Linked DNA regions of Homo sapiens: region 2 is linked to region 1. The links are contacts of gene promoters, found by promoter capture Hi-C in human tissues and cell types (Jung and others, 2019). All regions are on one chromosome and are shown on one strand. Each heading gives the region's core, a stretch centred on a gene start or on the middle of the fragment in contact. The rest is flanking DNA. Distances are from core to core; before and after follow the strand shown. Region 1 holds the start of R3HDML (R3H domain containing like). Region 2 holds the start of HNF4A-AS1 (HNF4A antisense RNA 1).

Evidence for each region. The method cuts DNA at HindIII sites, captures the fragments that hold promoters and counts their contacts. A contact is called where the count stands out against the background at its distance.
Region 2: a contact is called between a fragment that was not itself captured here and the fragment with the promoter of R3HDML in region 1, in 1 of the 25 tissues and cell types used here (pancreas).

The regions. Positions count from the first base shown.
Region 1 is chr20:44,334,756-44,339,107 of GRCh38, reverse strand. It overlaps R3HDML (R3H domain containing like), which reads right to left and starts at 2,065. Exons shown (of 5, transcript NM_178491.4): 1 at 1,690-2,065. The coding sequence starts at 1,950. RefSeq lists an enhancer at 2,394-3,383. The HindIII fragment of the contact is 19,264 bases long and covers 1-4,352 here.
Region 2 is chr20:44,391,541-44,395,892 of GRCh38, reverse strand. The region is part of intron 1 of HNF4A (hepatocyte nuclear factor 4 alpha); the gene reads right to left. HNF4A-AS1 (HNF4A antisense RNA 1) reads left to right here and starts at 231. Exons shown (of 3, transcript NR_172878.1): 1 at 231-440. The HindIII fragment of the contact is 5,512 bases long and covers 1-4,352 here.

The DNA of each region.
Region 1 (4,352 bases), core at 816-3,315:
TACCAGGGTTGTCTGGCCCAATATTTTTTTTTTTTTTTTTTTTTTAGATAGAGTTTCACTCTTGTCATCCAGGCTGGCTGGATCTCGGCTCACTGCAACCTCGGCCTCCCAGGTTCAAGCGATTCTCCTGCCTCCACCTCTCAAGTAGCTTGGGATTACAGGCGCTCATCACCACACCCAGCTAATTTTTGTATTTTTAGTACAGACTGGGTTTCACCATGTTGGCCAGGCTGGTCTGGAACTCCTGACCTCAGGTGATTCACCCACCTCGGCCTCCCAAAGTGCTGGGATTACTGGCGTGAGCCACTGCGCCCGGCTCTCTGGCTCAGTCTTTTAGGGAGAGCAGAGGAGTGCTTCCCTCATGCTACAAAGGGGTAAAGTGAGGGAAGGAGCAGGCTAAACATCAAACCTACATGTTCAGGCCCTCCCTGGAGTCCCTGGTGAGATATTGAACCCTCTCTGCTCCATGCCGCCTGCAATCATTAAACACCTGTTGGGGCAGGTGCCACACACGCACAACGGGTGCTCAATAAATGTGCCATTTGTTTGAAAAATGGAGGGCATTCTAGGTGCTAACGAATGAATGAACAAGTCAATGACTCCCCTGCACTCTAGCTGCCTGCCATCCCGGCTCTTATTCCCGCCCCTCCCAACACTGTATTGCCTCCTCACGTTATCTTATGTACATTAATATCTTGTTGTTCATGCTTGTTTTCTCTTATTCCCACTAAAATGTCACCTTCGTGAAGGAAGGGGCCTTGTCTATTCTGTTACCAGCAGTATCCACAAGGCTTAGCACGGTGCCTGGCTGCAAGTGTACTCCAAGTATAAGTCAATGGATACGATGAAAAAGTTAAGTTTTCAGGCTATCGAGTGGCATGTGTTGGTCTTTCAGGGGGCAGACTGGCAAACTCTTTCCCTAAAGACATCTCTGGGTGGGCTGGAAACCCATCCCTCTAGGCTGGTTTTGGACAGTGGCCCTGGGGGAGGAGCTGTAAGCAAAAGGTTGGTGCCCTCCTTTGACTTCTTGGGGGCTGGAGTGAGAGCCACCAGCCCTGCCTCTTTGAGGGGAGACATCCCAGCTTCCTCTGCTGGTCAGCTGTTGGTTTTCCTCAGCCTGAGATTCCCCAGTACCTGTCCCCACTGCTCCAAGCCTGCCTCCAGGGGCTTGTGGAGGATGCTGTGGGTGTGTCAGTCAAGACCTTAGGGTAAAGAGACAATAGCATAGAAAGCACCAGCCACGCACCCCATGCAGGTCCCCAGTGTGGGGAGCCAAAATTCTTGGGTAGGGGATTGTGATGGTTACAGTTGTGATGGTGCCAGGTGGCAGCAGGCAGACCTGGATTGAAATCCTGGCTGGGCAAATTAATTCTCTGAGTCTCAGTTTCTTCCTCTGGAAAATGGAGATGATACTCACGTGCAGTGCCTGGCGCACAGTGGTGCTCCTTACATAGTAGTCACATGCCTGACTCACTGGAACAGCTGTGCAACCTTCTTGGTTTCCTCATCTGTAAAATGGGCAGATTAACTCCTGCCCTTTCCACAGGTCGACACCCAGATACTGGCTAGTGGGGCCAGGCAGGCAAGTGGTCCAGCTCTTCAAAGCCAGTCATTCTAGGCCAAGATGAGTCCGGCTGCGTTTGCCGGAAGGGACACTGCGGGGGGTGGGGGGCAGGTACGGGGACTCACCATGTATTCCATGTTGGCGGCAGGTGGGTACACACTGGCCCGGATGTGGTTGTGATAATCCAGTAAGGCATTCATGTCTCTCACAGAGATGTGGCGCTTCCGGCGGTACCTGGGCACCTCCAGGCCACTCAGGAGCCGCATAGCCGTGCTCTCGGGCTGGGCCGGGGCTGGGGTAGCATTAGGCATTATCAAGGCGTTCACTGCCTGGCCAGCCCAGAAGAGCAGGCCTGCCAGGCCCACGGTGCTGGGCAGCAGGGGCATAGCTGGATGGAGGAGTCACAGGTCTGCCTTGTGCAATCAGAGCCGGCTGCCTGGAAGGGGCAGGCACGAGAGCACCAGACCCTGAGCGTTCTCCAACAGTGCCGACCCAGAGGATGCTGCCTCCTGGGAACTTGGCAAAGACCTCCAGATGCAGCTCTGGTCCAGATGCCCAGCACCCCTTCCTTTCCACCCCAGGGGACTGAGTGGGTTGGGCAAGGGGAAGAAATGCCCAGACAGTGGCTAATCCAGACATGGCCCTGGGGTGAGATGGTGCCACCACTTCAAAGCCAGTGCTCTGTCCCTCCAGCCCAGGAGACAGACAGCAGCCCTCTCCAGTCTAGACATCCTCTTCACCAATCCTGCTGGAGCGGGCTCAGTCAATGCCCTCGGAGGGCAGGGCCCACCTTACCCCAAGTCATATTGCAAGGTCCTTTTGTCCCTGCTTTGCTGCAATTTAGGAATTGAGAATGAGACACAGAGAAAACCCAATGGCAGAGAATGAAAGAGGCAGAGAAAAAAGAGAGACCAAAAAGGGGACAGAAAAAAAGAGTTACAGAGAAAAAAGAATGAGAAATAGAAAGGTAAAGAGATAAGAGAGAATGAGAGAGAGGCAACAATGTGGCTGGGGGAGGACAGAAATAGACAGAGAGAGGGGCACAAACAGAAGAAAGAGCGAAAAATCGACTTAGAGAAGAGACAGAGAAGCACGAGAGACCAGGCAGGAGGCTCCAACGGTGCGTACCCAGGACGGGCAGCCCAAGCGGTGGCAGGCGGCAGCCCAGGAGGCCGGGGACCTCTGCAGACACCCTGGCCCACCTGGCGGCGCAGCAACTTTAACGGTCCCCTGGTGCTGTTGGCATCTGACGTCCCTGGCCCCACAGCCCCCTCCCCTTCCAGCCAGGCCAGACTCCTGCAGGGAGGCTCCGCCTGCTGCTTGATGGGCTTTTCTCTCCCGCCCCTCTCTCTCTGCTTTCACCTGAAGCATGTAGGGCTGGGCTGGGCAAATGGTCAGGGTAGTGATGTGGCAACAGGGCAGGGATTCCAGGAAAAAATACTCATCCCCTATGGGAGATCCCAGACCCCGAGGCTTCTCTCTGCCTTCCACATCCTGACATATTAAGGCCACCTTGCATCTGGAGAGTATTTTCTGACTGTTTTCCCTATAACACCCTCCAGCCTTGGAGCAGACAGTTAATATGGCCCATCTAGTGAGCCCCTGCTATGTGCCAGGCCCAGGGCTGAGTGCTTTACACAAAAGCCCAGCCAACCTTCAGAAGCAGGTACTATAGCTCCCCATTTCATAGATGAGGAAACTGAGCCCCAGAGAGGAGAAAGAACAAGCCCAAAGTCAAGCCAGCCAGTCTGCAATCACGCCAGGATTTAAGTCCAGATCTGACCCCAGGCCTGGTTAGTATCTAAAAGGATGCCTTTTCCTTTTCCTTTCCTTTTTTTTTTCTTTCTGTTTTTTGTCTCACTTTGTCGCCCAGGCTGGAGTGCAGTGGCGCAATCTCGGCTCACTGCAACCTCGATTCTCCTGCCTCAGCCTCCTAAGTAGCTGGGGCTACAGGTGCACACCACCACACCTGGCTAATTTTTGTATTTTTTAGTAGGGATGGGGTTTCACCATATTGGACAGGCTGTCTTTCTTTTTTTTTCTTTTGAGACAGAGTCTCGCTCTGTCGTCCAGGCTGGAGTGCAGTGGCACAATCTCGGCTCACTGCAACCTCCACCTCCCAGGCTCAGGTGATCCTCCCATCTCAGCCTCCTGAATAGCTGGGGCCACGGGCACGCACCACCATACTTGGCTAATTTTTTTGTATCAGCCAAAGATGCCATTTTCTAACCAAACCAAATATAGATGCATAAGGAAAAAAGCCTAGGGTGATGTTCGTTATGATGCCACTCAAACACAGCCTATTCATTAGCAAATGAATTAAGCCCACAAATCTGGGTTCAAATTTCCCTTATCCCACCCCCTCACTAACTAGGTGTTGGGCACGTTACTCAACCATTGTGTGCCTCATCTGTAAAATGGGAGAAATAGCGGTGCCTACCTTGTAGCATTACTGCGAAGATGAAATGAGTGAACATTTGTGGAGCCTTAGTACAGTGGCTGGCACACTGTGTGCACTCTAGGAATGTGTGTGTGAATGTGTTTGTGTGTACGTGTGTACTTGTGAGAGTATGTATGCACTTGTGTATGTGTGTGCAAGTATACTTACATGTGTGTGTGTTTGAGTGTTCTTGAGTCAAATGTGTCCCCAGGTGAATGTATGAGTATGTAGATAATGGACGTGTGTGCGTGTGTGTGTGTGTGTGTGTGTGTGTTTAAAGTCTCAGTCTCTGAGTTGCTGAAGTCCTAGGTTAAGAAAGAGTTCAATTTTCTCCTCTTTCATTACTTG
Region 2 (4,352 bases), core at 1,255-3,754, 56 kb before region 1:
ACACCATTATCTCCTATCTTTTCTTCCCCACCCACCACTCCGGGAGAGGTGCAGAGAAAACTGGGACTTATCAAGACAAAGAACAAAAGTCGTGGAGGAAAGAAGCCAAGAGCCATCTCTACTCTGGGGTAGGGCCCTTCAGTTTTGCCCCTTTGAAATTTCAAATTCCAGTTTGTGGACAAAGTCCTAACTATCTCACAATATAGGTCCCCAACCACTGACCAAACTCCAGTCCAGGCAGCCACCAGCTGGCCTGGTCTTGCTGCTTCCTTTAGCGGCTTCCAAGGTCCAGGGACAGGGGGTCTGGGCCACCAAGAGGCTCTGCTAGGCTGTCCCTGCAGCCACAGCCACCCCACTGGACCCCTGCCTCCCATCTGAGAGGACAGCCCTCTTCCTGGAGCTGGGATCTGACACTTGCTGATACCAACGGCAGATACCAGGTAGGTCCCCTCCCTTTCTCTTCCTTGAGCTCCTAAAATGCCACTCATACCACCCTCTGCACTCGGCAAAGGCCACTGTGGCTTAATCAAATCAGGCACCCACAAAGCTTCAAGACTGGAAAAGATGCCTTGGCTAACCCACCCATTTAGTGGACGGAAACACTGAGGCCGTCAGGGGAGTGGCAGCTGGCCACAGACTGAACCATAGACTTGGGGCCCAGACCTGGGGCCCCTCACGGAGCCTCAGAGGGTGAAAGGGACTTGCTCAAGTCCACGCAGCGGTGGTGGGTGAGCTTTGTCTTAACAACGAGCACTTTCTACTTCATCACAGACCATGAGTGGCATTGTGTTTGTTCACCCGATGATGGGTGGCCACTGGCTTGTTCACCCGATGATGGGTGGCCACTGGCTTGTCACAGGAGTATTTCCGAGAGGAAGATGAGGGAGCTTGGGGCTGAAGGCCAGTGGGTTTGGAAGGAAGCAACATTCATGTGGTTAACTGATAACTGGGCCCCATCCCTGGGCCTCCTTCCTCCCTCCCTGTCCTTAGCCTGATTAAGACCAACTTACCCAGCTGCTAATCATTGCTGAGCCTGTTGATTTTGCCTTAAAAAATTAACTGGGCATGAGTTTGCGGTTTTCCTCACCCCTAACCCTGAAAAGGCCTGGGTGGGCAGGAGGCCTCCAGGGTTATGCAAGAGGCCGCTGGCCTCCCAACGCATAGCCCACGGCCACCTCGGCTGCTCTCCAAAGAAGAGGCTTTGCTCAAGAGTCAACAGTCTGCTTGTTCCCCCTGTGCTGGGTCCTGAGCAAATTTGCTCTGTTACCAAAGAGAGATAAAGGCAGCTGGGGGAGAGCTTTCCAAACAGGGATGGGAAGCGGCAGCTTTGAGCTTGGGGTTCTAGAACTCTGCAGTGTCAGAGCCAGGAGAATCTTTAGGAGGATGTGGGCTGGGGTTTTTCAAGCTGGGTTCCGAGGCTCCCAGGAGCCAAGGGTATGCATCCACAGGCCCAGCTTCAACCAGCGACTCCCTTTTACATGTAGTCTTAATATTTTATTTGAGGGTTGGAAAACCACTGATTCAGCCCCATCCCCTCATTGCACAGATGGGGAGATGGAGATCAGAGGGGGAAGTGACTTGTCCAAGGACAGAAGGTCACCTCGGGTATTCAGGGGCTCCAGCCAGCATGGGAATGAATGGTGGGCTCTCTGTGGACCCGGGCAATGTCTTGAAAGACATTGGTGAACAAGACGGCTCTGCAAACGCCTTGCCATGCCGTTCTCCCCCTCCTCCCAGGGCTGGCTGGAAGCAGAGAGGTGCCTGAGAGCCATTGGAAGACCCAAGTCAGGGGAATGCACCTGGCTCTGTGTCCCATGGGCCCTGTGAGGATATGACCAGCAGCCAGGCACTGCAAACCGGAGACTACGTTATAATCCATCTCAGCCACGTCCTGTCTCTGGAGGCATCAGCACTTTGGGAGGCTGAGATGGGAGGATTACTTGAGCCCAAGAGTTTGAGACCAGCCTGGGCAACATAGTGAGACCCTGTGTCTATTTTTTAAAAAGATTTTTTAAAATTAAAGACAGATGCCCAGTCCCTATCACAAAAAAAGATGTAGAGCCCTGCCCTGACTCTCTCCACCTCTCTGAGCCTCAGTTTCTTCACCTGTAAATTGGGAATTATAATACTTAACTTCCAGGGTTGTCATGAAAATGAAATGAAGCAAAATATACACATTGATCATCATGGCCACTGGATATGCAGCTGTTTTAGGAGCTTTGCATGTGTTACTTCCTTGATCCTCCCAGCCACTCTGGGAGGTAGGCAATGTTTTCACCAATTTTTTACACACCAGAGGCACAGGGAGGTTGAGCCATATACCCATGCTCACACAGCTGATGAGAAACAAGAAGTGGAATTGGAACTTGGGCAGTCTGTCTCTAGAGTCTGTGCCTCTAACTCCAGGGCTACCCTTCCCTTCCAGGGATGCCAGTGAGAGATGGCCAGGAGAAGGGCAGAGAGCAGGGCACTGTGGGAGATGCTGACTGTAAGGCTCCGGAGGTAGGGCAGAGAGTATGGTCTGGAGAATGATCAGGAAGGAAGCCAGGAGGACTTGGATCTGTGTGGGTGGAGCTTCTCCGCAGGCTGCCTCCTGCCAGGTGGCTTATGACATCTGGGCTGAGGGTGTTGCTGTCCTCCTGTTTATGTTCATCCCTCCTGTTTATGTTCCTGAATTTATCTGCAGGGGTGACCTTGGGAATTAGATGCGGCCTTCCCGGCCCTTGTGGGGCCTGAAGGCTGATGGGAGCCCCTGCCTGACCCAGACTCTGGTTTGGGGAGTGAGGGCTGAGCCCACATCCCAGAAGCCACCCTTGGTCTCCCCATACTCTTGTTCTGAGGGGCCCCAGGGATTTGCCAGGTCACTAAGGTGAAGTGTTTGGAAGTCCTGAGGCTCAGATCAGAGTTACTGCCCTGTACAGTTGTGCAGGTTGCTCACTGCACAAAGGTTCTCCAGCCAAGAGGGCAGGTAGGGATGGAAACCCAGCCCTTGTTCCACTTGCCAAGCGAAGTGCCCATGGAGCTCTGCCTGCCCAGAGTGGGGTGCCTTTTTCTTATTTGCCCTAGGGCTTCATGTAAGCTGCTGGGTGTCCTGCCCCAGCTCTGGTTCCAGCCACTGTGTGTCCTTGGGCAAGGTCATTTCCCTCCCTGGCCTTGGTTTCCCATTGGAGAAGTTTTGTCTAACAAAGCAGAGACTCATCTCTGAAGATGAAATAGAATCATCTGAAACCTTTAAAATATACAGATGTTGGCCGAACATGGTGGCTTACACCTATAATCCTAGCACTTTGGGAGGCTGAGATGGGAGGTTTACTTGAACCCAGGAGTTTGAGACCAGCCTGGGCAACATAGTGAGACCCTATGTCTATTTTTTAAAAAGATTTTTTAAAATTAAAGACAGATGCCCAGTCCCTATCACAGATCAATGATCGAATCTTGGGGTAGGGGTGGGGAGGTGCCAGGCGTCTATATTTTTGTGCAGCCAATATTGAGACCCACTGTAGGGGGGCTTCAAATTTGAACCTGGAAAGCCTTCGATGGCATCAAGTTCTATCACTTACTACAACTTACTAGTCAAAACCTCAGCGAGGCTCAGTTTTCCCATCTGTAAAGAGGGAATGATGATCGTTTCCTCACAAAATCAAAATGCCAATTAAATGAGATAATGTTCAGACAGTGCTTGGCACCATGTTCCCCAAGTAGGGAGCTCCTGATTCTTGCTACCAAGACTATTATTGTTGTTATGGGCAATTTGACGTTGACAAAATAAAGGGCCTTTCTAGGTCAAGGATTCGGTGACTTGAAGACAGGCCTCCTCTGTTGCTTTGAGTCAATTTCTAGTACCTGGGCCTAAATCTTGACTGCACACCGGTCATATTATTGAGGTATGTGTTATTATTATTATTTAATATTTTACTTAATTTGTGAACATCTTTACATTTAGTTTTGAATTGGTGCTACATTCGCATGGTTCAGAATCAAAACATAAAAGGTGTAAATTGAGAAGTCTTGCTTCCAGCTGTCTCCTGTTCACCTGTTCTCCTTGACTTCCTCACTATGGGGAACCACATCCCTTACAGATGTATCTGCCAAGGTTTCTTTATACAGACCAGATAGCATGTAAGATCATACATGAGTAGCCTCTGCTCTTACACTGTTCTGTATCTTGTTTGGTTCATTTAATATCACAACCTGGAGATGCTTCCATAGCAGCTGAGAGCAAGCTTTGAGGATGGAAGGGTTCTCGTCTCCCATCACAGGTGAGGAAACTGAGGCTCAGAGAAGAAACATCATTTTCCCAGTGAGCCAAGGCAATGGTGTTAGAACTATCTCTACCTGGCTCCAGAGCTTGT